7 separate regions of the Homo sapiens genome follow, and all the other regions are linked to region 5. Evidence: promoter capture Hi-C in 16 types of primary human blood cells and fetal thymus (Javierre and others, 2016). All regions are on one chromosome and are shown on one strand. Each heading gives the region's core, a stretch centred on a gene start or on the middle of the fragment in contact. The rest is flanking DNA. Distances are from core to core; before and after follow the strand shown. Region 1 overlaps LOC101928354 (a long non-coding RNA gene). Region 2 overlaps LOC101928354 (a long non-coding RNA gene). Region 3 overlaps LOC101928354 (a long non-coding RNA gene). Region 4 overlaps LOC105374942 (a long non-coding RNA gene). Region 5 holds the start of JARID2 (jumonji and AT-rich interaction domain containing 2). Region 6 overlaps LOC105374942 (a long non-coding RNA gene). Region 7 overlaps LOC124901266 (a long non-coding RNA gene).

What was found. The method cuts DNA at HindIII sites, captures the fragments that hold promoters and counts their contacts. A CHiCAGO score of 5 or more calls a contact.
Region 1: a fragment that was not itself captured here is called in contact with the fragment with the promoter of JARID2 in region 5 in 1 of 17 cell types (fetal thymus); the score reaches 6.4 in fetal thymus.
Region 2: a fragment that was not itself captured here is called in contact with the fragment with the promoter of JARID2 in region 5 in 1 of 17 cell types (fetal thymus); the score reaches 5.9 in fetal thymus.
Region 3: a contact is called between a fragment that was not itself captured here and the fragment with the promoter of JARID2 in region 5, in 2 of 17 cell types (M2 macrophages and neutrophils). The highest score is 6.8, in M2 macrophages.
Region 4: a fragment that was not itself captured here is called in contact with the fragment with the promoter of JARID2 in region 5 in 1 of 17 cell types (naive B cells); the score reaches 5.2 in naive B cells.
Region 6: a fragment that was not itself captured here is called in contact with the fragment with the promoter of JARID2 in region 5 in 1 of 17 cell types (fetal thymus); the score reaches 7.7 in fetal thymus.
Region 7: a fragment that was not itself captured here is called in contact with the fragment with the promoter of JARID2 in region 5 in 2 of 17 cell types (naive CD4 T cells and total B cells); the score reaches 5.5 in naive CD4 T cells.

Annotation. Positions count from the first base shown.
Region 1 is chr6:14,630,811-14,635,037 of GRCh38, reverse strand. The region is part of intron 2 of LOC101928354 (a long non-coding RNA gene); the gene reads left to right. Among named protein-coding and RNA genes, the nearest start is that of LINC01108, 350 kb to the right of the region's middle. The HindIII fragment of the contact is 5,778 bases long and covers 1-4,227 here.
Region 2 is chr6:14,655,043-14,659,202 of GRCh38, reverse strand. All of the region lies in intron 1 of LOC101928354 (a long non-coding RNA gene), which reads left to right. It overlaps LOC102724463 (a long non-coding RNA gene), which reads right to left and starts at 52. Exons shown (of 3, transcript XR_926514.4): 1 at 1-52. The HindIII fragment of the contact is 754 bases long and covers 1,180-1,933 here.
Region 3 is chr6:14,698,242-14,701,962 of GRCh38, reverse strand. All of the region lies in intron 1 of LOC101928354 (a long non-coding RNA gene), which reads left to right. Among named protein-coding and RNA genes, the nearest start is that of LINC01108, 410 kb to the right of the region's middle. The HindIII fragment of the contact is 4,245 bases long and covers 1-3,721 here.
Region 4 is chr6:14,426,553-14,430,450 of GRCh38, reverse strand. It overlaps LOC105374942 (a long non-coding RNA gene), which reads left to right. Exons shown (of 6, transcript XR_926510.3): 5 at 3,437-3,793. Among named protein-coding and RNA genes, the nearest start is that of LINC01108, 140 kb to the right of the region's middle. The HindIII fragment of the contact is 1,428 bases long and covers 1,799-3,226 here.
Region 5 is chr6:15,244,199-15,247,938 of GRCh38, reverse strand. JARID2 (jumonji and AT-rich interaction domain containing 2) reads right to left here and starts at 1,870. Exons shown (of 18, transcript NM_004973.4): 1 at 1,355-1,870. The coding sequence starts at 1,399. JARID2-DT (JARID2 divergent transcript) reads left to right here and starts at 2,565. Exons shown (of 1, transcript NR_187237.1): 1 at 2,565-3,740. JARID2-AS1 (JARID2 antisense RNA 1) reads left to right here. Exons shown (of 2, transcript NR_120502.1): 2 at 1-124. RefSeq lists enhancers at 1,793-1,892, 2,003-2,052, 3,242-3,740 and silencers at 2,663-2,922, 2,933-3,242. The HindIII fragment of the contact is 5,356 bases long and covers 1-3,740 here.
Region 6 is chr6:14,443,667-14,447,397 of GRCh38, reverse strand. All of the region lies in intron 2 of LOC105374942 (a long non-coding RNA gene), which reads left to right. All of the region lies in intron 1 of LOC101928331 (a long non-coding RNA gene), which reads right to left. Among named protein-coding and RNA genes, the nearest start is that of LINC01108, 160 kb to the right of the region's middle. The HindIII fragment of the contact is 3,705 bases long and covers 1-3,502 here.
Region 7 is chr6:14,288,022-14,291,914 of GRCh38, reverse strand. LOC124901266 (a long non-coding RNA gene) reads right to left here. Exons shown (of 2, transcript XR_007059465.1): 1 at 1,847-3,893. Among named protein-coding and RNA genes, the nearest start is that of LINC01108, 4.5 kb to the right of the region's middle. The HindIII fragment of the contact is 612 bases long and covers 963-1,574 here.

The sequences.
Region 1 (4,227 bases), core at 390-2,889, 610 kb after region 5:
ACGTTCAGGGCAGGCTGGAGACCCAGGGAGGAGTTGATGGCGTTCCAGTGGGAAGGTATTCTGAAGCAGGTTCTCTCTTCCCCAGGGGACCTCAGTCATTTCTCTTAAGGCCTTCCACTGACTGGATGAGGCCCACCCACATTATTCAGGGTAACCTGCTTTGCTCAAAGACTACGGATGTAAATGTTAATCTCATCTAAAAATTACCTGCACAGCAATACCTACACTGGTGTTTGACCAAATATCTGGGTCCCATGGCCTAGCTAAGTTGGTGCATCAGATTAACCGTGGGGCTAATGAGATGTACTACATAAGGTTGCTTTGTGGGTTAAGTGAGCTGATATAGGTGAAGAATTTAGAACTGTGTCAGGTACAGATAAATTCTTGATAAGTGTTATCCATCATTCCTTCCAAAAGGAATCATTCATTCCCAGGGCAGACTCTCCCTCTGTGGCTTGGACATGTCATCCTGGCCACTGGGTCCATGCCCCTGAAGTCAGCAGGCTTTGCTTCTCTTCCATTTACTTCTTGTGGCTGCGAAGAGTCTCTGTGCCTTGAGTGTGGCAGCCTGTGTCTGGGAGGAGAGCGAGCTTTCCTGGTGCCCACATCAGTGAGGACACTAGGTGCTGCCTCTTAGTAAAGGCCCAACAGGGGAGATGCTGCAAGGAGATGTCTGGGGATGGAATTCTCCTGAGAGGATCTCTGTTGTTGCTTATACTCGCGGCAAGAAGCAAACACATCGCTCTTTCATCTTGGCAGGATGTGCTGCTGCTGCCAGCCTGTCTGCCCCGCCCCTGGATCGCCCCCACCCCCCCGACTCAGGTGGATGGCCCTTCAGCAAATGCCTTTCTTGGAAAAAAAAGGAGAACTGCACCCCTTGCCGCCCACCTCCTTTTCAGTTCAAAACTCTGCTCTATCTCCTTTGCCCAGCCACACCTTTCGTGGCCCTTCCTACCTGACAAAGGGAGATACCTTTGAGAGTCAGGCCTGCATTGCGAGCTGAGCGAATGTTCTTTTTGGAAACAAAGGAGTGTTCTTTTGGCTTTGGTTGATGAAAGCAGGTGGATTAAGAACTAGGATAAATGCAAAATATCCTGGAGGACAATGGGGAAGGAAAGCTGCGGGAAGGAGACATGGAAAGGAGGGTGGAATGGGAGATGGGAAGGGGCTGGCAGGACCAGGGAAAGGGTAAACCACGCTTTCATCTTGGAGTCTGATCTGTTTCTGAACTCTGAAGAGTAAGGCCATGAATTTTAAAAGGTGTCTCTGCAGTATCTCTGCAGCTGACAGCTCCAGTCACAGAACCAGCCCTCTCTGAAGCTCAGGAGTGCCACAGGAGGCTGAGCCCAGGGAGTCTGGAGACCAGGAGGCTGGGGGAGCCCAGCTGGCCCTTGTCAGGAAGCAGGATCACTCACAACTCCAACGCACTGGCCTGGGCAGGCTTCTGGCTGCACTTGGACGTGGCTGGGGCTGAGTATCCCCTGGCAGCTCCTGGAGGTGTCCACAGGGATGGTATCAGCAGATAACTTTCTGAGCAGGTCTCAAGGCACTGCTGGATGTGCTTGTCAATGACAAAGTCACGCAGACACCTGCTGCAGTCCCTGTTCACCTGTGCTGACTGCTGAGAGGACAGCAGGCCTCCCGGGGACTGGCTGTTTTCTCAACAGGGTTTTGAGAAAGGTCCTCTTCTAGAAAGGGCTGGGGGACCCTGCTTTGAGAGCTGCTCCCAGAGGGGGAAGCCAGGTAGTTCCAAAGGTCCTGGAGGAGGCTCAGAGTCTGCAAGTCACCCAGTAGAGGGAGGGATGTGAAGGTGGCCTGCTGAGTGCTCTGGGCTGGAAAAGTGGCAGTGAGTATTGTCCTTGGAGCCCTGGGAGAAGTGTCAGTGCATCTTACTTTATGAGAAATGCATGCTCTTGAGAAATGGAATGTGGACATTTAAAAAATATGTATTGTTATATCTTTATCAATATGTCTGATTTTTTTTCGAAACCCTGGAGTATCGCAATCATGACTTCTCTGTTTGTGAATTGAGCATCAGGAATATTGAGTTTTCTAAAAGCAGGGATATTGGTAATGGAAGCAAATGGACACTTCTGGAGCTGTCAGGTAGCCCAGAGCAGGACCCCAACAGCCACCAATGACACAGCTCCTTAGCTCGCTGGCTGAGCCAGGAAAACAGAGGTAGTAGCCCTGGGCAGAGGGACGCCACACACAGCCAATCCTGTGGAGACACTGGGAGGCATCTGGAAGCCCCACAAGAACCTACCCCTCCTCAGCTCTGTGTCCTGCCTAGTTACATCCTCAGAATTGTGAGGTACCCCTCCAGCAGCTGGAGGCCTGTGGAGGGGACTCGCCGTGTCTCAGCTTTGGGACTCCTGAGCCCCCGTTACAAAGGAGACTCTTTTTAGAGGGTGTGTGGGGCAAAATACCTTCTTCCTCATTTATTAAAAATTGTTCATTGGAGTAAAATATACATAACATAAAATTTACCATTCTAACCATTTAAAATGTACATTTCAGTGACATTGAGCGCATTCATAACCTTGTGCAACCATCACCACCATCCAGCTCTGGGTATTTTTTCATCATCCCTAACTGAAACTCCATACCTATGAAACACCAACTCCTCATTCTCTTCTTCCCCCAGCCCCTGGAAACCACCATTCCACGTTCTGTCTCTAGAAATATATGACCACTCTAGGTATCTCACATAAGTGCAGTCACACAGTATTTGTCCTTCTGTGTCTGGCTTATTTCACCTAGCGTGATGTCTTTAAGGTATATCTATGTTGCAGCATATATCAGATGTTATTTATTTATCTTTTTATTATGGTAAAAATATCATAAGATGTATCATTTTAAGCATTCATAAGCATTCATAAAGGCACAGTTCAGTAGCATTAAATCCATTCACAATGCTGGGTAACCATCACCGCTGTCTGTCTGTCTATCTATCTATCTATCTATCTATCTATCTATCTATCTATCTATAACTTTTTCATCATCCCCAATAGAAACTCTGTACCCATTAAACAACAAGTCCCTATTCCCGTCACCTCTCAGTCTCTGGTAACCTCTATTCTGTTCTATCTCTGTATGAATTGGTCTATTGCTATGGACCTCATATAAGTGGAATCATCCATTATCTCCCACCTTTTGAGCACAGATTAGATTAGAACACAGATTTTCAAAGTCTTCTCAAAGAGACAGAAGGCCAGCACCTAGTGGAACTTAAGGGTTGCACATGGCTATGTTGGGGGTTTTCCAGCCTGCATCAGGAAAACAGAACAGGGAGCATCCCAAAGCAGCCTGGACAGGACCCCCTGGGCTTCAGAGGGAAGGTGCTCTGAGAGGGATAGCCTGGCAGGTACATCCAGCCACCGAGGGAGGCCCTGAGAGACTCACATCACAGTGCTCCCCGCGTTTGGATTCCAGCCTCAGTGAGCACCCTTCCGAAAATCTGCCTGTGCAGAGAAAGCATAGGACAGGGCTTTTCTTGATGGCTTGGCACTTATGCTTGTCTTGGCAACAGAGAGGAATGGCCAAAACGTAAATGGAGAAGTGGTTCCTGAGTTTGAAAAATGGCTCTGCCATTTACAATATGTGAGACCTGGAGCTCAGCTTCCACTTCTGAAAAATGAGGATGAGAAGAGTCACCATCTCATAGGTATGGGTAGGCATGAGAAACAAGGAAAAGCACACATAATGCAGAAAAGTGTCCTGCTGAATGCCTGACCCACAGTAAGTCTTCAGCCGTGATCATAATCGTAATGTTAATTCATTGTGTTGTTAACATATCAGTTTCTTATAAGTTTTGCTAGCATGGCTCACTATCCTCAAGTCCAAACAGTTTTAAGACATTGAAATTGAGTTTGGGAAATGCATGCCCCAGGGTCAGGCATTTCTGTGAATTTGCTGGGGTGGATAACCAACCACTTGTGCATCTTGAGAAATCAGTGGTTTGTCTCCCCGGTGACATCTTGATCTCACCGCTCATTTTCCTTCCTAAGCATTGATAGAAATAAAGAATTGAGAAGTGTGAGCTCATTTTTGGGTAATAAATCTTAAACTGCATCCTTATTTTAGTTTATCGTATTGCACAAACCGTACATTGGTGGATGGGAGACCTAGTCAAAAAGGTGTAGACGGAACAATTTTATATCTCCCCAGACGGCCAAGTTCACAGTGATGGGATCCATAGTAAAGCATGCAGTGGGTCTTCGAAGC
Region 2 (4,160 bases), core at 307-2,806, 590 kb after region 5:
CTCAAAAGGAAGGAGGGATGAACCTGCATCTGTGATGAGAGAGGCTTGGAATGAGGCCACCAGGCACGTGAAGGGGAAGTTACAGGACTGCCTCTGAGTCGTTTGGCCTCAGGGGATCTTGGCAGCCCAAACATCATTCTCTGTGGTGAGAGATACTAGAAGACCACAAAGCAATGGGAACAGCGGGGCCATGTCAAGTACACCTCCTCCTTTTTGATAAGGTTATTTACTTGAGACCAGAGCTTATAGAGTGTGGACCCTAGAGAGTCTGGGGAGGGTTAAGCTCTGTGTGTTGAGGAGAAGAGAATACATTTTTGTGAGTGTCGGTGCGACGGGTGGAATTGTGTTTCTCCTCAATCCATATGTTGAAGTCCTAACCTCCAGAACCTCAGAATGTGACCTTATTTGGAGATAGGCTCTTTACAAAGGCAATTAAGTTAAAGTGAGATCATGAAGCTGGTCCCTAATCCAATATAACTAGTGCCCTTATTAGAAAAAAAAAAAAAAGCAAGTTTGGACAGAGAGAAACACACATAGACAGAACACAATGCGAATATGAAGATGGCCGCCTGCAAGCCGCAAAGAGAGGCCTGGAATACATTTTTCCCTCACAGCCCTCAGAGGGAAGCCACCGTGCCTAAACCTTGATCTTGGACTTCCAGCCTTCAGAACTGTGAGACAATACATTTCTGTTGTTTAAGCCATCACATCTATTGTACTTTGTTACAGCAGCCCTGGCAATTGAAGGTAGTTGGTGCTGGCAGCCTCTTCCTTCCATCAGAGGACACAGAAGAGAAGACAAGGATCTAGAGACTCTGTAAAGCAAAGATGGGTTTCTTCTGGTGCTGTACCTGGAAACCGCAACAGTATTTATAGAAGTGACACACTGGCTCAGACCTCAGCTGATCCAGTGATTTCTCTCATCTTAGCAAGCAATGTTCATTGGCCTACAGTAATCGTGCATTTGCTGCATGATCAGTTGTCAACTGGCCAGATAACCTACTAGGCACATGATTCTGTGCCCATCTGCAGGAAAACACCAGAGAGCTGGGCTGAGATGCAGTGAGTGAGAGCTGGGCTGAAAGTGTTCCTTGAGGTTTGCCTGAGTTTCTCTGAGCCTGCTCTCCTCAGTCCAACCACAGTCACTTCTGATTGTGAGGGTTGGAAAAATCCAAAGCTTGGGCTGAAAAGGTTGCCTAAGATGTGTTCTGTCTTTACTGAGCTGAGCAGAGCCTCTTCATTGGATTTCTATCCATTTGAAGAGAGCAAACCGTTAGAAGAGCTCAAATATTGATATTTCCTCTATCTCTAAGTGATTCCTTGAAAGTATCATTTTTCTTCCTTTCCTTTCCATTTCCTCCTAAAAGCATGTAAAAAATATGAATGCTAATTCGAATACAATTATCCTTATGATGGATCAGTTTACTGGATGTGCCAAATAGATGCTTATCATCAGAATGATCTGGCATCAGCATAATCAACTATTTGTAGGAAAAACATGAGAGAGAGGAAGACAGGTGAGCCAACACACCAGTTAGAATGTACACGTACACTGAATTTGGACACGCTCCATACTCTTCTTCACTCAGGTATCCATCAGAGTGCTCACCTTGTCAGTGGCTGTTGCTGTAAGTATGTGTCTTACATCCAGCGTCTTCTCTAGGTTTCAGATGCAATGAGGTGTTTCCAGGCTCTGCTACTCAGTTAAGTCCCACAATGCTGATAGGGCTATTGGAACAGTCAATCAAAGTAAAAGAAAAGAGAAAAAGTGATGGGAATCAGAAGCAAAGAGACATGCCCAAAGGCAAAGAGCTCTGTAGAGGTGGTGGATTTGGACTTGTGGCACGTTATTCAAATATCTTCTTCCCACGGGCCCCCCAAATTATTTGTACAAAAGACCTTTCGACCCATCAAGGAGAGGTCCCTGCAAGCTTTGCTCTTCTGAAAGACAGTGCAGCATGGTGCTTCACAGCATGAGCTTTGGAGTTAAGCCAACTTCAGTTGTAATCCTGGATCCACCATTTACTAGGTTTGTAAGTTATTTTTAACATCTTGGGTCTCAGTATTCTTAAGCTTAAACCTTAACCTTAACCTTCAAATGGTCGCAAACCCATCATCAATAAAATAGAAAAAATAAATTGTGGTGTGTTTCTATAATGGAATATTCTACAACTGTAAGGATTAATAATCTATAACTATACACAATCCACAGTACAACAGCACAATACAACTACTCACAAGAATATGGATGAATCTACAAGCATAATGTTGAGTGAAGGAAGCTGGATATGAAAGGGGAAGTTGTAAAATGGCATTTATTTAAAGTTGAAAGTTTGGGGAAACGACTTTATGTGATTAGACGTTGGGATAGTGCTTGCCCCTGAGGGGTGCGGCTGGATGGAGGCATGAGAGGCCTGGAGGTAGGTATTCTGTGTCTTGTTCTGGGTGATGGTTACTCGGGCCAGTTCAGAGTGTGAAATTCATTGAGTTTCATACTTAAAATATGTGTAACTTTCTGTATGTGTGGTATACTTTAATAAGATTTTTTAAAAAGTAGATCATTTTGGTGCCCAACTCATAGAGATGTGAGGATTAAATGAAATAATGAATGTATAATAAAACACCTAGTGATAGAAAATGCTTAATATATGTTAGGCACTTCTTCTTATTATTCTCATTACCCTGATGCAGGAATTGGTGACAAATATCATTTGTTTGCCAGCGACCTGTCTCATCTGAGTAAGCCTGTGACACTCTGGGGTTTTAAAATAGGACGGTAAGAGGCCACTTCCTTGTGAGAAGCAAACCCCTTTCATCCATTGGGTCTCATTCAGAGGCATATATTCTATGGGGAAAAGAATAAGGAAAACATTCAGCTCTGAGTACTCTGATTTGAGAAAAGATAGCTCTCTAAGTATTTTCTTCAGTTTGATTAAAAACAAAACAAAAACCCATCCTGTGTCTTCCTGAATGTGCAAAAATAACTTGGCAGAAAAAAGTAGGCTAGTTTCTGCTGTTCTTAAACTGGTTTACACTTCCTCTAGTTTCCTCCGTAGATGAAAATAGCAGTTTAATCTCTTGACAGATAAACGCCTTTCAAAGTACTAGCTCCATTTGGAGCTGTTGCTCTTCATTGTTGATTTTCTATAATACAGATGTTTTTGGCATAATGTATTATATTCTCCAGAATGTCCTCTGTCAGCTCCGTAAAGAAGACAAACAGCAGCCTAATCTTGAAAACAGGGCCTCTCTATGAACTAGCTGACATAAGCTCATTTGAGCTTCACCCCGCATAAGAATTTTAATAAACAAACCTCGCTGGTCAGCATATTGCTCTAGCATATTTAAACATACCACATGCTTTCAGCTCCTCTTCACAGTTCTGCAGCTTTTGCATGAAACGAGTTCTGGTTAACAGAATTTAATGAGTCTGAGCGGGGGGAAAAGTCTCTCCACATGCAATGATAAAGCCACGGTGGGACAGCGTTAAAACAGCAGGGCTGCAGCGGGAACCAAGGTTTGAGATTCGAGTCTCAGTGCTCGGAACTGCTGTTTCTCAACTGCGTTGGCATAAAGAACCCTGAGGAATCCAGTGTGAACTGTATTCCTGACCCACGGGACCTGCTCCATGTGTGTCTCTACCTAGTTCTCCTTTTCTCCTTTCTTTTACGTTTTGTGTTGGAACCTTATCTGTTTTTCTGGCTTTTCATTCATCTACCTAGTCTGTTCTTCCGGCTCTTGAGTCAGACTGCCTGATTTCCAATCCTGGCTCAGTCTCTAAAGACCTCTGTGACTTTGTACATGTTATTTAACCTTCTTAGCCTTGGCTCTCCCATCTGTAATATGAGGATGACAGTAGACCTACCTCTTAGGGCTGTTAGGAGGATTACCTATGGTAATGTGCTTGGCTGGCTTGAAGTAAATACTCAGCGAATAACGGCTGTTACTCAGTTTCTTTCTGATTTCATCTCCATCTCTATGTGCATAGTCACTTACACCACCCCAATTAGGAAAATCTATGATAGGGTTTGGATGTTTGTCCCCTCCAAATTTCATGTTGAAATGTGACTCCTGATGTTGGAGGTGGGGTCTGGTGGGAGGTGTTTGGGTCATGGGGGGCAGATCCCTCATGAATGTCTTGGTGCTGTCCTCCCAAAAAC
Region 3 (3,721 bases), core at 738-3,237, 550 kb after region 5:
AATATTCTAGTCTGGGATGCACTAAGCCGGAAAAGCATGAGTTACAAGTAAGTTTAACACATTAAAAAGCATCTTGGGGAGAATTCTTGAATTTACACAACTAAGTATATATAACAGAGTCTTTACATCTAAACCCCATTTTATCAGGCCAGGCCATTTGTCAGCACATCTCTTCTTAGTTACCCCCAAGGCATCCATACTTTACAGCAAGGAGTGATGGCAACAGCTGGGGGCGGGAACTTCAAAGAAGTACCAGACCCGTAGGCCCCATGTGGTGGCTCACGCCTGTAATCCCAGCACTTTGGGAGGCCGAGGCAGGTGGATCACTTGAGGTCAGGAGTTCGAGACCAGCTTGGCCAACGTGGTGAAACCCCATCTCTACTGAAAATACAAAAATTAGCCTGGCGTGGTGGCACATGTCTATAATCCCAGCTACTTGGGAGGCTGAGGCAGGAGAATTGCTGGAACCTGGGAGGCGGAGGTTGTGGTGAGGCAAGATTGCCCCAATGCACTCCAGCTGGGGTGTCAAAGTGAGACTTTGTCTCAAAAAAAAAAAAAAATCCCATTCTGGAAAAAAATCCTCTCTGAAGCTACCATCAACACCATCTGGGTTGGTTAGTTGTTTATTTTCTCTCTGAGCTTTTTCTGATTTCCCCTGCTATTTTTTACTTCATGATGCTAACCCCTATAGACCCTATTCCCAAACGATCTTGCCAGGGGTTTTACAGCTGGGTTTGGCCAAGAGAGTCATAGGAAGGTAGGAGAATGGGAGAAGCCAAGGTATTTATCCCTCTTGTTTCCTGCTTGGGAGAGTGTATTTGTGGGTAGCTGAGTCTCATCTGTTCTAGCTGTTATGGAACAATCCCTCCTGCTGGACCAGCCCGGATGTGGGCATGGGTAACATCACCTCCTTCCTTTATTTCCTCAGTCCTAGAAGGGGTTGTGACTTTTTGACATTGTCAATCTATGGGCTGCCTTACAATCTCATTTGGGTTTTGTGTGTGTTTAAAAAATTAAAATTGACAATAAAAATCATATGTATTTATGGCATACAACATAATGTTTTAGTATTTGTATGCATTGTGGAATGGCTAAATCAAGCTAATTAACATATGCATTACCTCACACACTTATCTTTTTTTGATACCTTTGCTGCAAGAGCCCCATATTAAATTTTCTTGGTTGAGCTAGCTGATGTGGACTATGTTTTGTTGTTGTTGCTGTTTGTCATGTTCCAGCCTCCATTGTGGATCTTGTTCTTGGCCTGATGGGTTTTTCCCTAGGTCTGACCTCACATTTAACCAACCCTTTGCTCCTCATGTACATCCTTCTATTGTTTCCTGGACTCAACCTTGATGCTTGGATCCCACTTGTTCTCTCAGTGGCTTTGATGCTTCAGCTCCCTCCTGCAAACTTTTGTCTCTGTGCGTGTGTGCGAGTCCATTTTGCGTCACTATAAAGGAATACCTGAAACTGAGTAGCTTATAAATAAAAGAGGTTTAATTGGCTCATGGTTCTGCAAACTGTACTGGAAGCATTGTGCTGGCATCTGCTTGACTTCTAGTGAGGCTTCAGGAGGCTTTCAATCATGGTGGAAGGTAAAAAGGAGCAGGTGTGTCATGTGATGGGAGTGGGAGCAAGAGAGAGAGAGGGGAGGTGCCACACTCTTTTAAATAATCAATTCTCATGTGAACTCAGAGCGAGAACTCACTCATCACCAAGGGTATAGCACTAAGCCATTCATAAGCAATCCGCCCCCATGATTCAATACCTCCCACTAGGCCCTACCTCCCACATTGGAGGTCACATTTCAACTTGAGATTTGGAGGGGACAAACATCCAAACCATATCAGGGAGTAAGAAATTGTCTGACATATGAGATACTGGATTTTACAAACACAAGAGTCCTTAGATATTTGACCCAACTTCCTATTTTCATCCATGAGGTTGCTGCTGCTTAGAATGGGTAATGACTTCCTCAAGATTGCCAAGTTAATGGCAGGGAGGGAAAAGGAAAGGAAGTTTCATGTCTAGGTAAACGTCATATCACTTTATTTACTGTAACATGTGACAGGGATTGGGGACACGAAGATTGAGATATTGATTACCCTATGACCCTCCTCATTGCCTGTCCTTTGCCTTTGAGCAAACGTTTTGCACTGAGTGGACAGAAATATTAATTCATTCAACTCATATTTATTGATTGTCACAAAGGGCAAGGCTCTATGCTGAACACTTTGGAAAGGACACATATGAATAGAAAATGATCCACATCCTCAGGAAACTCTCTAGAAAGGAGTACAGCCTATAGGCCAGTGATTCATATGTATGTTGCATATGTTACATACAAAAGAGAAAACAATAAGCTCCACAGAAAGTAAGCAAATAAAGTGTTATTTGCATGTGGAGGAGAAAGTTGCTTCTGGCTTGGCAGTATTAGAGAAGACATAATAGAGCAGGTAGTATTTAAAATGGACAGGGGCTGGGAACGCTGGCTCACTTCTGTAATTCTAGCACTTTAGGAGGCTGAGGCAGGTGGATTGCCTGAGCTTAGGAGTTCGAGACCACCCTGGGCAACATGGTGAAACCCCATCTCTACAAAAATACAAAAATTAACCAGGCATGGTGGCATATGCCTGTAGTCCCAGTTACTTGGGAGGCTGAAGTGGGAGAATTGCTTGAACCCGGGAGGCAGAGGTTGCAGTGAGCCGAGAGGACAGGGCTGGGTACAGTGGCTCTGGTGTGTAATCTCAGCACTTTGGGAGGCTGAGGCAGGAGGATTACTTGGGTCCAGGAGTTCAAGACCAGCCTGGGGAACATAGTGAGACATCGACTCTACAAAAAATAAACCAAATTAGCTGGGTGTGGTGGCGTGTGCCTGTATCCCCATTTACTTGGGAGGCAGAGGTGGGATGATAGCTTGAGCTCAGGAAGTCAAGGCTGCAGTGAACCAAGATCGTGCCACTGCATTCCAGCCTGGGTGACAGAGCAAGACCCTGTCTAAATAAATAAATAAATAGATAAATAAATAAATAAGATGGACAGGAAAGCACAAATAGTATTTGACCATGTATAGCTGAGAGAAAGGTGTTCAGGATGAGTGATCGAAAGCAGGTAAGGGGACAGTGAGGGCTTCAATGGAGCTGGAAAGCTGACTACCTGAAGGTGAATGACAATAATAATAATAATAATAATAGCAATAGCAATCATAGCTGACATTTAGTGGGCTCCTATCACATACCTGAGCACTGTGCCAAGTGCTTTACATGCTTTGTTTTGGTCTATAGATGGGTATTGTTATTTCTATTTTGCAAATGAGGAAACTGAAGTTCAGAAAGATTATAACTTTCCAAAGTCATCCAGCTAGCAAATGGTAGAGCAGATTCCACACAGGTCTGCTTGATTCTAGATATACTGTTAACTGCTAAGCCAAATGGATGGGTTATCAAGAAAGGCAAGGGATTTATATATAGATCTAAAGGCATGAATAGCAAATGTAGTGTTGAGTTGTTTTTTTGTTTGTTTGTTTTTGAGATGGAGTCTCGCTCTGTTGCCCAGGCTGGAGTGCAGTGGTGTGATCTCAGCTCACTGCGACCTGCGCCTCCCAGGTTCAAGAGATTCTCATGCCTTGGCCTCCCCTAGTAGCTAGGACTACAGGCGCACACCACCATGCCCAGCTAATTTTTGTATTTTTAGTAGAGACAGGGTTTCACTATTTTGG
Region 4 (3,898 bases), core at 1,263-3,762, 820 kb after region 5:
GAACAATTAAATGGCATTTTATACTTTCCCAGTGTTGTGCAATCACATCTCTATCTAGTTCCTAAATATTTCCATCCCCCCCAGAAGGAAACGCATCCCCTTTAACCACTCTCCATTTCCCTCTCCTCAGCCTTCACAAACAACAATCGACTTCCTGTCTCCATGCATTTACCTGTTCTGGTTATTTTATATAAATGGATTTATATAATATGTGTCTGGTTCCATTCACTTAATGTAATATTTTTGAGGTTTTTTCACCTTGTATCACGTTTTGGTAATTCATTTCTTGTTATATCTGAACAATATTCTGTTGTATGAATATACCACAGTTTGTTGTCTATTTATCTATGGATGAACATTTGGGCTGTTTCACCTTTTGATGTTTGTAAATTGTAAGTAGTGCTGCCATGAACACATATGTACATGTATTGGTTTGAGTGCCTGTTTTCAATACTTTTGAGTATATAACTAGGAGTGAAATTGGTATTCACCCTTTTTTTTCTGTTACTTCTCTTAATGATCTCATGTCTGCGTGATCCTTAATGATGCCCCGTTTTAAAATTCCTGACATTGTTTGTCACTAGGTCATTTGTCTCTAGTTTAACTGATCAATCTTGACAGCAATTTTTCACTTTTATTAGTATTTTAAGGAATCAGCCTGTGGTTTTGAGAATCTTGTCTGCTTATACATTTGAATTAGTTACAATGATTGCTTTCTCTTTGGATTTGTTTCGCCACTCCTTTGGTAATGTCCGGAGAGAGCTTCTTAACTGACACGAACGGGGCTCCATTGGTATGTCCTGGGATCCCTCGTCAGGCCTGTGCACTCCCAGACCTCCAAGGGCCGGGACCTGCATTTTTGTCCGAGGGCCGTCCCCAGGCTGCCTGAACTTACTTAGCCTATGGGCATAGTGGGCTGGAGGTGCCTGGGAACTAACAGCGCCAGAGGAAACCTTTAACTAAAGACCAAAGGCTGTCAGGGTGTAAATACTCTTCTTGCCCTTCGGCTGAGATAATTCTGAAGCATATTTTACTTAGTTTTCTAGAGTTCTTCTTGGTAATTAATGCAATCAAGCTCCAGTCTCCTGCTGTGATGACTGCCTTCATAACATACCCTTTATTATTTATCTGTCTTCCCTCCGTATCTCACTTCCTACCTGTTCCTACTTGTCTATTTCCCTGTGAGGGACTGAACTGTGAGCCCCTCAGATTCAACGTACGAAGCCCCTAAATTTATTTGTTCGAGTCTGAAGCCAAAGTACCTAAGAATGTGGCTTTATTTGGAGATACAGCTTTAAAGAGGTGATGAAATTAAAATGAGATCATGAAGGTACACTCTAATCCACTATGACTGGTGTCCTTATAAGAAGAGATTAGGACACAACACACACAGAGGGAATCCCATGGGCAGACACAGGGAGAACACAGACATCTGCAAGCCAAGGGCAGGAGCCTCAGAAGAAACCAAACCTGCTGACACCTTGATCTCAGATTTCAGCCTCCAGAAATGTGAGAAAATAAATTTCTGTTGTTTAAGCCACCTAGCCTGTGATACTTTGTTACGGCAGCCCAAGCTAATTAATTCACTCCCAATTAAACTGTTCGCCCTTGAATCCTTGGCTCAAGGTCTGCTTCTGGGGAACCCAAGCTAAGATTCAAAGTTTATTGATTTTTTTCAGTGTTTCTTCTTTTCTAAATATGCATTTGAAGCTATAAATTCCCTTCTAAGCAAGGCTAACACTCTGATATGTAGTATTTGATAGTGTAATGATAAGTATTTGTAGTATAATGGTAAGCTTTGATATGTAGTATTATTATTTAATTTGAAGTATTTTCCATTGCAATTTCTATTTAACCTGTGGCTTATTATAACTCAGAAGGGTTTCACATTGGCCTTATAGATGCTCCAGCCATGTGTGTCACTTCTGCTCACAACTCAAATGACCAGAACTAGCCACAGGGCTCCACCCAGCCACAGGGGAGCAGAAAGCACAACCTACCGTGTTGGTGTTGCATAGAACATCTTTCTACATGTTTCCTCTTGCGTAGGTGCTAGAATTGCTTTAGAATAGGCTATAAACCTGGGGGTGGAGTCACTAAGTCATCTTATTAAACCCATCTTCCATTTTATTAGAAATTGCCAAGCTGCTTTCCAAAGCGGTTGTGTGAGTACACATATTGCCCATGCACATTGTTCTGCACCTTCACAACCCTTCATATTATCAGACTTTTAAAATTTTTTGGCAATTTTGGAGGCATGAAACAGTATCCTTTTGCATTTTAATTTTCATTTCCCTGACTAATAGGCAGGTCAGGTTTGTTTGTTTGTTGTTGTTGTTGTTTGAGACGGAGTCTTGCTCTGTCACCAGGCTGGAGTGCATTGGCACGATCACAGCTCACTGCAACCTCCACCTCCTGGTTTCAAGCAATTCTCCTGCCTCAGCCTCCCAAGTAGCTGGGACTACCGGCACCTGCCACCACGCCCAGCTAATTTTTGTATTTTTAGTAGAGACGGGGTTTCACCATGTTGGCCACGATGGTCTCTTGACCTCATGATCCACCCACCTTGGCCTCCCAAAGTGCTGGGATTACAGGTGTGAGCCACCGGGCCTGGCCAGGTCAGGTCTCTTTTATACCACATGTCCTGTGATGGTCTCTACTTTATATAACTGTATTTTTAAAATAAATTTTATGAAACATTTTCCATTTTAATAAAAATTAAGTTTATATCCTATTTGATAATAATTTGTGGCTCATTTCCCAATAGATTACATCATAATTCTCTAAAACTAATCCTTGCATTTTAGCAAGACTTCAGGTCTATTTAATTAGCAAGGCTGAATTTAAGAATGAACTTGAACTTTATCAGGGGTCAGTAAACTGTTTTTTTGGTAAAAGACCAATAGAAATATTTTATTTTATATATTTTTTTGCTTTGCAGGCCACATGGTCTCTGTTGCAAGTACTCAGCTCTGTTGGTATAGCAGAAAAGCAGATATAGACAATATGGTGTGGCTGTGCTTCCATAAAACTTCACTTGTGGACTCTAAAATGTAAATTTTGTGTAATTTTAGTTTGTCACAAAATATAACTCTTCTTTTGACTTTTTCCTCAGTTATTTAAAAATGTAAAAATCATTCTTGACTCAGGCTATATAAAAAAGAGGCAACAGGCCATAGTTTGCTCTTGGGCCCTAGCTTGGCACCCCCTGAACTATATGAAAGCTTGACTCTAAAGGCAAAGAATGTGATAGAAGCTGTGTACCTGCTGTTAATGCAACTCACATTGCAATCAACACGAAAGATTAAGATCTCGGCCAGGTCTTTCAATCCTCTTTCTCTGTTTTTGTGCCTTACAAGGATTTTCTTAGATAAGTTTCATGAGCATGGTAGATCCAATGGTCTCAAAAGATTTATCCTGCATTCTGCATGCACAGGTGTTTCACACAGCAAAGCCCAGGAGCACAGGTCTTGCAGCCTCTGGATAACCAACTCGTCTCTCACCAGTGGTTCAAAAAAGCCCATGCTATCCTCATCCAAATAAACTTATGAAATGCTTTACCAAATGATTTGTTCAGAACAGTGAATACTAGACACAACTTTGTGTGGAACAAGAGGAGATCCAGTAATGACAATACATCTTTTGTTAGAAAGACTTACAAAGGCTGTGACATTCTTCTTTGAAGTGTTGTCATTGTGTTGGATGGGATGAAGTGGTTCTAGGACACACAAAAAAGGATCAAGAACATCTGAGAAGACTACAGATAAGTCCTTACTGCTGATTTTGGACACAGGTAGGTTACAGAGATGTTACACAAGCCCTCTGGCTTGTCAGTAACCCAGGGATCTGCCTCTGCAAGGCTAATACCATGGTCATTATACTTTATCTCTCTGAAATG
Region 5 (3,740 bases), core at 621-3,120:
ACGCTCCAAGACAAGGTTGCCTCAGTGCAGTTTCTACAGCCCGAGTTTAAACTAGTCCTTTGCATTCTACCCAGCCCTCTGCAATGCGGATGTATTTTAATTCTTAAATTCTTTATGGAACAGCTTTCTAAGTTGGGCTTGATTATTTAACCTTGCATTTCTTTCATAGTTGAAGTTGACGTGTCTAGATAAGGATCAGCTCTCTTGAAGAGGCATTCAGCTTTTCCATTAAATATATTTTTTTACAAAACCAGTGCCCCGAAGGTCATCTCTCATTACACACACCACAATGATCAAAAAGGGAAAATATTAACACCAATTTGTCTACCCAACTTAAATAAACTTTCCTCTTACGTTGCATTATTCCTAAGGTATGTTCATTTGGCCTTTTTTGAAAAAAAAAAAGAGTTATTTAATTTAAAGCATGCAGCTAATCACAGATCACTCGAGTGCATATTTGGTTAATCCCTCGGTCCCCCTTTCCTCCCTCCCCTCAAACTTAAAAAAAAAAAAAAGCCACCACACACAAAACAAAAACACTCCCCATGCCAATCAAAACGTAGCTGTACTATGCACAAAACAAATTTAACTATTCCAAGCCATTTAAATCTAGGAATAATCACCCAATTTCAGAAGCCCAGTTAACAGGGAGAAATTATTTGTAGTTACTTACATATGCATTCACGTACACACTTAAAAACATTAGCCATAGTGTGTGTCCTTTTCCCCTACAACTGGAAACCATGAATTTTTTAAACAAAACCAGCCTCATTATTAAAGTCAATCCCAACAAATGCATTCGCTGTAACATGATTCCCAACTGGTTTATGTTGCAAACCAGATAAGCCAAAACGACCACAGACATTAAATTTGATGTGCCAGTGCAAAGAGAAGATCGCCATAATCGGACCCTCGATCGCAACTTAAAGGGCTTCCAACACACATGCGTTACACGATTTTTCCAAATAACATTAATAATAATAACACAGGCTCATTTGCATGCAAAGTGCAATACGGGGCCAAATCCGCTTGAGAATGCAGTTTAGTTACATTACCGCAGCCACCCCCCACCTCAAGCTCCACCAAAATCCCTTGCCTTTCATCTAAAAGTAGATTATGGTTGTGTCATTCGAGGTCAATTTATTCACTTGAGGTATCTCTACACCAGTCTGTTTTTTCAACCAAACTAGGCAGACACCACTTTGCTTGAAAAGCCCTCTTTCAGAAAAAAAAGAAACAGCCTTATCGGACGCTGTGTTTAAAACCCTTCAGAGGCAGAATTATCTATAAACTTGACATTCACAGCCATTGCTTAAAACTGCAAGTCAAAGGATGTGTTGTTAGGAGCACTTACGTATTTCTTCTGAATGATATTCCTCTTGGGTCTTTCCTTGCTCATTCTGAGATCCAAATGCTGATTGCAAAAGGGGACAATTGCTTCATGAATTTAAAGCCGTCAGAAATTTGCAAAAAAATATCCTGGTGGTTTTTATTGTTGTTGGTGGTGGTTGATCTTGTAATCCGACTTTTCTTCCTCTTCCCCCAAAGCCAGATTCGCCTTGAAATAAATCCGAAATTGGGAAGGAAAAAAAAAGAGCCAAAGACGAACGAAGCAAACAAAAAAAAATTCACTTTAGTAAAACACTCATAATGGAAAATTTCCCCCGAAACACATACACACACACACAAAAAAAAACCGACGCCCTTCACTCCCCCCCCTTTTTCCTCCAAAAACTACATCAGCGAAACGTGAAGGTCCTTAGTGTCTGATCCGTAGTTACATCTTGGAAAAGAAAAGGGAAAGATAAATAAAAAATGTTGGAAGTCACGTTTGTGCTGCAGCAGCAGTGCGAGCAGAAGAGTCAACTCCAGCGGCGGCGGCGGCGGCGGCGGCAGCACCACAGCGAGGGCTCGCCGAGTCTCTTTTTTCCAAGCCCCCTAACCAATGAGAGAGAGGCTATCCAGCCCAACTTTAAATGGACTCTGCTTTTATACAAGTTAGGGCTCCTCGGATAATTCCCCGCCGGGCGCCAGCCGAAAACTCCCACCGCTCAGCCGCCAGGCGCCCGCTTAGCCTGGTGCCGACCGCCCCTGGCCCAGTCCAGGGCACCCCCGCAGCCTGGCCAACCAGACACCCGAGCGACCTCGACGAACCCCTCCCAGGCAAGCCCTCGGGCGTCGCTCCCACGCCGAGCCCAGGCGTGGAATTGAGAGAGGCTCCCTAGCTCAATGCATGGCACGCTCCGTCGCTCCACCTCACCCCCTTTCCCCTGCCTGCCGCTCACCCCACGGCCGCCCCACGCCAGCCCCCGCCACTGCCTTCGCGTCTACCTGCAGCCGGGCTGCTGGGTAGGAGTGCCCCAGGACGCCCGGCCCCGGGGAGAGCCGCCTATTCCCGGGGCACCTTAGAATGGTCCCCTTGATCTTCTGGAAGTTGTAGTCCCCCGACTACAAAATGGCTATGGCCACGGAAGCTGGGAACTACAATTCCCAGCCTGCCCCGCAAAGCCTGTCACTCAACTCCCCTCCCTCCTCCTCGCCCCCTCCCCCTCACTGGCCGTGCCAACAAACGCTTGGACGTGTCCCGCGTGCGACACTGCTAGAGGCTGGCTCGGGATTGGCCCGCGGAGCGTGTGGTCCGCGAGCGAGGAACTCCCCACGCCGGCCCTCCTCCGCCCCCCGGGCCCCGGCCCCCCTCCCCTGGCGGCCGCCAGCCCCCTCCCCGCGCGCCCCGCCCCCACCCGCGGCGCGAACCGCCTGTGGAATCGAGGAATCGCGCGCGTGCGGCCCGGAGCCGCGGGGGAGGGACGCGAGGCTTCCCCGGGGAAGGCCTCGGAGCGTGGCGGTGAGGGGGGCGGTGTCAGGGAGGGGTTGGAGCCCGTCCTAAGGAAAACTGGGCCACGCACCAAGAGGAATCCTCGGTGCGAACTAGTTGATCGGCGGCGCCTGCTGCTTGTGCCGTGCAGCCGGTGTCACCTCAGGACAGCGCCTCGCGTCTGTGTACAGAGCGTGCTGCGGGCGCCTAGGGTAGTCCGAGGTCACCCCTCTCCGCGCCCCGCAGTCGCGCACGCCCCCACGCGCGGGGTGGGCGGTGGCCGGGGGTCGCCGAGTGGAAAGGCCACGCCCCCCCACGCCCGGGCTCGGCACGCTGCCCCTGGGTCGCGAACGCGCCTCCGCTCGACCCGCTTGGAGGACGTCGCTGGTGGCCCAGGAGTGAAGCCCCGGCGGCTGCCTCCTGAGAAAAGATAGCCGTGTTTAAAGAGACTGAACGGGATCTTTGCTTTGCCGGGCGTATTTTGTGATAAAATACCACAAAATGTTGAGACAAAAATGAGTGGAATATGGAGACCGAGCCGCACAGACACGCAATTGTAAGGAAACATCTCGAACACCGAGTGCCAGGAATATCAACTGTCCGGGCCACGCAAGAGCCTGCTTTTTACCTGCCTCCAGCCCCCTGTCGTGCTGGTTTAATCGCTGAAACAAATGAAGTAGCAGGCCCTGGCATAGCGCTTTGGGCCTTCGCCTTATTAACAACTTTGTCAAGTCTCGCATCGCGATTCTGCCTTGTTAATTTCCTTGTTTTTCGCTGTGGTTTTGGAGAAGCAATGTTTTCCATGATCTCTCAGGCTAGCCTCGGAATAAAACGTGGCAGAAGCGCTCCCGCGAACACATACCCATATATTTTATTCTACCTATTCCCTAGAGTCTGCTAACTTCAAAAGTCTAGATACTCACAC
Region 6 (3,731 bases), core at 401-2,900, 800 kb after region 5:
TCACGCACACCTCATTTAGATGATATTTAAATGAGATTTTGAACTTAGAGTTGATACTAGAATACGTCAAGACTTTCAGGAGTGTTAGGTTTGGGTGAATGCATTTTGTATGTGAAAAGGATGATCCAGAGGGTGGTCTGTGATGGGTTGAATTATGTTCTCATGACCCAAATTTATGTTTTGAAATCCTAACCCCAGTGCCTCAAAATGTGACTCTATTTGGAAATACAGTTGTTGCAGATATAATAGTTAGTTAAGATGAGGTAATACTGGAGTAGAGTGAGCCCCTGATAGAATATGATTGGGTATCCTTATCAAAAGAAAAAATTTGGGCTGGGCATGGTGGCTCATGCTCATAATCCCAGCACTTTGGGAGGCCAAAGCAGGTAGATCACCTGAGGTCAGGAGCTCGAGAGGAGCCTAGCCAACATGGCGAAACCCCATCTCTACTAAAAATATAAAAATCAGCTGGGCGTGGTGGCGTGTGCCTGTAGTTCCAGCTACTCAGGAGGCTGAGGCAGGAGAACCACTTGAACCTGGGAGGCAGAAGTTGTGGTGAGCTGACATAGTGCCACTGCACTCCAGCATGGGCGACAATGAGTGAGACTCTGTCTCAAAAAAAAAATAAATAAAAAGAAAAAATTTAGACACAGACACACACACAGAGGAAAAACACCATGTGAAAGTTCGATTCATGCTTCCACAAGCCAAGGAACTATCAGAAACTAGGAGAGAGGCCTGGAACATTAGATCCTTCCCTGGTGCCTTCAGAGGGAGCATGGTCCTGCCAACATCTTGATCTTGGATTTCCAGCCTCCAGAACTATGAGACCATAAATTTCTGTTTTTTGAAGCCTCTCAGTTGGTGGTACTTTGTTATGACAGCTCCTATAAACTCATAGAGTGTCCCTTCCTTGTCACCTCTGCATTGCACTCCCCACTGGATCAACTCCTGGAAGCCCACCTTGTTGAAACCCTTATGTCACACAGGGGTGACAAGAAGGTCCTGCCTCTCAGCCCCATGTCATTGGCCTTTCTGGATTTTGCACCCTGCCGTTAGCACAAATATTAGCATGTTCGTCACACAGACACGTTAGGATTGCTCTAGCTCCAAGTCATAAAGCCCTCTTAAAAAAATTAAGCCAAAAAGTGTTAAGTGGCTTAAGCACATCAGCACCTGAAGTATAAGGATTTTATCCTATACGTTTCCTGCTGAAACATACATTGGTATAAAAAAAAAGTGAAAGGGGAGAAAGCAGCCTCAAAACTCAAGGGGAGAAAGCCTCAAAACTTATCTTTGTGTTCACTAAAAATGTTGGCACTATTGGGGCTAGGTTACTCTGTAAGGCTCAAGTGCATGTTCAGTTACCTAACTCTGAAACGAAGGATCCAGATTATTTCTTTCTTCAAATGGTTGCCTCTGATGAATTAGGAACACAGGATAAAATAAGAAACACCAGTTTAGGAGTTTAGGACCTGGGTTCAAATTCTGACTGGATCTCTTACCAGCTGCATGATCTTAGATAAATGACTTGTCAAGCTCTTTGAGCATCATTGTTCTTATCTACGAATGAGAGGTAAAAATCCCTATCTCAGGGAGGTGTATAGACTTTCCCTTTCTTAGGCCTCTGATTCCTGGAAGTGGGGGAGTATTTTAGCATGAAATATCCAAGTTATGCAGTGAGAAATCCATCATTATTAACATGAGGAAGGGTTGTCTTATAGATGCTCCATCCTGAAGATGGGAAAAGACTACAGGGAGCTACCCATGGTTTCCCTTTGGGACCAGCAATACCTGTCATCTCCCAGGGGAGGGGTCATGTTTTGTGTGATCTAGAGCGTAATTAACTCGGGAGGTCATTTTGAAGGAGTAGAACTCATAAATTCAAATACAAAAGGAGGTGCAGGGCTTGGAAGAGGCTTCAGTTAGTGACAGGCCCTGAAGCATGAGCTTCTTCAGCTGCAGAATAAACCTAACCACGTCCCTCTGGGATACAAGGAGACTAGACTCCGGACCTTGGGCAGAAGAGTGAGGAGGAAAAAGAGAGAAAGATTAAAATAATACTAATAAGAGGATTCTAGAACTCCCATCTGAAACTGATTCGGTGTGACTGGAGTGTGGATAAATGTCTGTATTCAGGATGTCTATAAATGACTGCTACTAGATTACATTTCTTCAAAAAAATTTTTTCTGCTGAGTAGACCTGAATGCCTGCTCAGATCTGAAAATATTCGATCTTATTTTTTCCTAATATGATGTTAAGGGTGGATTTCTTTTTAGGAAACTCCCATGTGTAGTTGGGATCTGGCTTTGGTTCACGTGTGGATCACCCCCAGTGGTCATACTGAACCTGGGCAGGCCTACCAAAAGCCTGTGATGGGGTTCAGGACACGCTACCTTAAAATATAGCAACTTGGCATTTGGGAAAAGCACAGAAGCAGGAAGTTCACTTTTACATGTATTCTCCCTTCTACCTTGAAGCAGGTCATAAGACCTCATGTGACAAGTGCCCTCCTTACTCCCAGAGAAAAGGAAGGAAGACACAGAAACACCACGAAGAATATGGACAAACAGACCTTGCTAAGTTCCCCCCCATTTATTACCATGACATCATACTCCCTTTGTCCAATCACACTTTCATCAAACCTGAGCATGAAAATACACAGGTTTCTCTGTTTGGGGGGTGGGTCTTCATTTTTGAAGTTTCCATGTCATGTAAAACTTATATTAAAGAAATGTGTATGTTTTACCCTTGTTAATTTGTCTTGTGTTAGAGGGATCTAAGCCACAAGCCTAGGATAGATGAGGAAAAGATACTTAACACCTGTTTGTCTGAAGGCTGAGGGATGGTTCTTATCAGACAGGAAGGAGCCAAGCATCGAGAAGTTGACCCTGTAACAAAGCCCTGGAGGTGGGAAAGAAGGAGGAGTTCAGAAGTGCATTCAGCACGTATTTATTGACATGTGCCTAAGTCCACAAGCACATATCAGAAGCCCTTGAGGCCAGATGTGTTTTAGAACTCAGAAATTTTCAGATTTGAGAAAGGCAATGTGCATAAACCAAATATTATATAACATCCCTAGAGGGGTTGGAGGCAACACTTTGCAAATCAAACACGGTATTTCCACAGTCCTGTCTCAGCCAAATGTATGAATATTCACACTAAGTGGGATAAATGCCACCTTACTTCACTTCATGTTTTGCCACCAAGGTGTTTATAAAAATTTTTGTGTTTTCAGAGGTTTGGGGATTTTAGAATTGTGGATAGGGCCTGGGCCAGGTGCTGCACAGTGTTCTGATGCTGGGGAAATAGCACTAACAGGACCAGAGCAGAGGCCTGAGGGAGCTGGTAGGCTCTGAACAAGGGATGGTTCCCCCGTGGGGCCCTGGTGGATGCAGGTGTAATTCCCATGGGGAGAAGGGGAGCTTTTTAAAGGGAAAGAAAACAAAACAATAGAAATGGCGTTCCATTAAAGCCCTAGAAAACATTAGTGCATAAGCTTGAATGCTTTAAAAAAATATCTCCAACAGAAAATCACACAGAGGAACAGAGGCCCCCTCCCTCCTTCCTGTCAACAATAGGCAGCTCAGTGGCTCTGGTGACTGGAGGGCCATGGGCCTCAGCTGGAAGATGTGAGTGCCCAGCAGACTGGATGGGCACAGCTGATGCCCACCTGACAGAAGCAGACCCCGATGGAGAGAGACCCACTCTGAGCGGTGGTTTGCAACTG
Region 7 (3,893 bases), core at 19-2,518, 960 kb after region 5:
TGTATATTTTATTTAACGGGGCCTGACTTTCTGTTTGAAAGATTTGTTGATGTGGCTCTTTTCATTTGAGCAGCTGTTGTTGCCAATGAATTAAAGAGTAACCAGGGCTCAAAGTGATTTGAGTCTGGTCCTGATTTGGAATCCACTGTGTGGAGCCCATCCATCCTCAGGAACCTCAGTTTCCTTTATTATAAAAAGGAAAAAAAGTTATAGCTCTTACAGCAGAGTTGTAAGAAAGACTACCCTGCCAGAACTGTTCAAATATGAGGAATTGGCAAATATAAAATTCTAAAATATTTCTTAATAATATGCACAAGTTCTGACTTAACAAGCATGGCATATTGTGACTACCCTGTTAAAAAAATCCGCTGATCATTTTTCACAACTTATTTATTCTTGGTGCCTATTTCCTTTCCAAGGAAGGAAAAGGGATAAAAGAACTTTAACATCTTTTTTCGTTACCAAGTGCTTTTTACATTATTCCTGAAATTCACTTCTACACGCAGAATATATTTAGGAGTCTGCCTTCTGATTTAAAATATATATTTATATGTATCTAAATCATTTCCTATAGACTTTTTAAGCATTTTGTTCATCTAAATGTGTATGTTTCTGCTCTAATTGAAATTCCTAAATAGTCACTTTCTGAACTGTCAAAATTGTAAAGCTGTTGATGGGTGCAGCTCTGGGGTTTCCATGGTAACTACTTTCATTGCCTAGGAGATGCTGGTCTGCTGATACTATCACTGAACTGGCTCAAATCTTGAAAACTTGGCGGTGCCCAAAAATGTGGAAGCATGTCCTGAAAGTTTAACGGGCTTTTATTTTTAATGGCTGGCACCAAGCGTGGCCTCATCAGGGCTTGGGAAGAGGCAGCTCTGTTTCGAGGTTCTTCATTGTGTAGAGGATGGGAGCTTTGACAAGCATGCTAATACTACCAGATCCTCTTTGGATGGTAAGCTTTTATGTGAATAGCTCCTAAATAACATTACCATCACTCACTACTACTGGTATGGAAATTGAGTTAGGATAACAGAGCCTGAGTTCCCCCATGAGATAACAAGATGCTTCTGAATATAAGTCAAAATTGGAGTATAGATTGTCTCACAACTCTACTGTTTTTTGTTTCTTTTCGTCTTTCTTTCTGTTTTCTCTTTTTGTCCCTCTCTTTCTCTCTTGTCTGAAGAGTCTGGGACGCTGAAGGCTATAAACATCATGGTTTGTTACACACTTTCGATGTCTGCTCAAATGTGGTGTACCATTTCTAAACCACCTCCTGTTAAACCGTTTGTGGGAAAGTTACATTTAAAATAAATCATTTCATGATCAGCAGTTTTATTGGTGCGTGGTCAAAAATTACCCAGGGAGAGAGAAATCATTTAGTTCACCCTTTTTTTTCCTATCCTAGGAACTCGAGTTTTTTCTAATTACATCCGGAGGATCATTTAAACAGGGTGGTCCATTTTAAAGCAGTCACATTTAAATCTACTTTGCATTAAATGAGCTTGCTTTTAGATGAGTTTGGCTGGCTCAAGAATACATCACAAAATGCAAATCTGATGATAAATAAAGCTTTGGCTACATCGTAGAAATGGGGAGCATTTCAAAAAATGATGTTAGCACTGACTGCTAAGTGAAATGGCATTCCCTGAACACTCCTCATATTTTAAACATTTAAATGTATGCTACTAAATCAAATATGTCCATTTAATATGTGGCAATTTGTAAGCCACACAAAATAAGAAGATGAGGTGCTAGTTTTTCCTCACAAGTTAACACTGGTGAAAATACAAGGGTGGAATAGGGCTGTGAGAAGTCAAAAATAGGAGGAAATGGCTCTGCATACTTATTTGAGGAGTGTTTTGAAGTCGCTAGCAAGCAGAATGTGAACTGCTGTGTGCCAATTATACCACATCTCCTTGGGACCTGAAGCTGTTGAGTTGATGCCTTCTTAGGCTTGGCTCCTAGAAGAAGATAGAAGTCACGAAGGGGTAAAATATTAGCTACGACTAAAAATGCTTTAATGAACGGTTGAAACAAACATCTCAGACTTTATACATGCATAAAACAAAAGATTCGTCCCTTTAAAGGATTAGCCTTCTTACTACTTTAAAGTATTACGCTTGTTAGCCAAAGCGATTATTACAATGATCCCGCTGCCATTGTTCAGATTTTTGAATGCCAGTTTCCACTTTTTAAAAAATTGCTTTCAAAAACTGCGACATGTCTGGGGCATTTTTTTTTTGTATTATACTTTAAGTTCTAGGGTACATGTGCACAATGTGCAGGTTTGTTACATAGGTATACATGTGCCATGTTGGTTTGCTGTACCCATTAACTGGTCATTTACATTAGGTGTTTCTCCTAATGCTATTTCTCCCCCGACCCCCACCCCATGACAGGCCCTGGGGTGTGATCTTCCCCGCCCTATGTCCATGTGTTCTTATTGTTCAATTCCCACCTATGAGTGAGAACATGCGGTGTTTGGTTTTCTGTCCTTGTGATAGTTTACTGAGAATGATGGTTTCCAGCTTCATCCATGTCCCTGCAAAGGACATGAGCTCATCCTTTTTTATGGCTGCATAGTATTTCATGGTGTGTATGGTCTGTGGCACATATTTCTAATTATTTACCAAAACTTATTCTTTCTTCTTTTGTATTATGTGGAAGCTGAGTATGTGGCTTCTATAATAGTAAAATGGCATCTGGGCACATGGCTACTCAGCTGGTGATTACCAGGTGTGGCCACGTGACTAGATTCTTAACAGAAAATAGAAGTGCTATGAGTCATTTCCAGACCTTGGTACAAAATATTGCACATGAGCTCTCCATGACTGTTTCCATCTCTCAGGAACCATAGGAACCCAGCATCGACCTAGCAGATGGCAGCTACTCTAATTCTTATGCTGGTAATACAAGAAACCTGGGTCCCTGGATGACAGCGTGAAGTAGATCCACCCTGCCAACCAGGTTCTTTTTTTAAACTTGTCACAAGAATGTAAGTTTCCTTTTTCTGTAAATACCACTGCATTGTTGGGTCTTTGGGTACAGAATTCCAAAAAAATGTAGGTAATGAAAATGGTGTCTCTAATGAGAAACAAAACCTAGTTGGAAAAGTAAGTCCTTGTATAGATGTTTAGGAAGGAGTTTCATGAACTTATAGTTAGTTATTGTACTAGGTTCACCAAGTGAGTGAATCAGAAGGACACAGAAAAGTACCTGGAAAGGAGTGACAGGAAGACAGGTGAAAGAAACATTGGAGAAAACACAATCAAAATTAATCAGATCCAATATTGTAATTTTTTAATACAGGATATGTTGCTCTAAGCTTTTTATGTTCAGCCTCACTTTTACATTCTTCTGCATATAATAGAATCCTACATAACTGAGGTGTGTCTGGGAAGGACATTTTGTGAGATTTTGTTGCCAAAATACTAAACTTTCAGAAGGATCTTAATAGGTCCATGTTTCAGTTATCTGCTGCTGTGCAACAAACCAGCCTAAACGTAATGGCTTAAAACTGTAATTTATGGCATATCACAATGCTGCAAGTTGACTTAGGTCAGCTAGGATGGTCTTCTACTCCATATGGTATACTTCGCATCACTGATCTGCCTGCATTCAGCTGGGAGCTTGGCAGAGAGGGGAACTTCCAAGATGGTCTTTCATCCCTCAGGCTCTCTCTCAATACAGCTCCTCATCTTCCAAACATCTAACCTGAATTTCCTAAAAGCATGACAGCTGACTCCCAAAAGGGAGCATTCCAAGAGAGAAAAATTAGAAGCTGCCAGTTCTTGAAAGGCTTGGGCTCAGAAGTTTTAGAATGTCACTTTTGTTAGTCAAAGCAAGTCACATTCAAGGGAGGGAAAAATAAACCCACCTCTTGAGGTGGG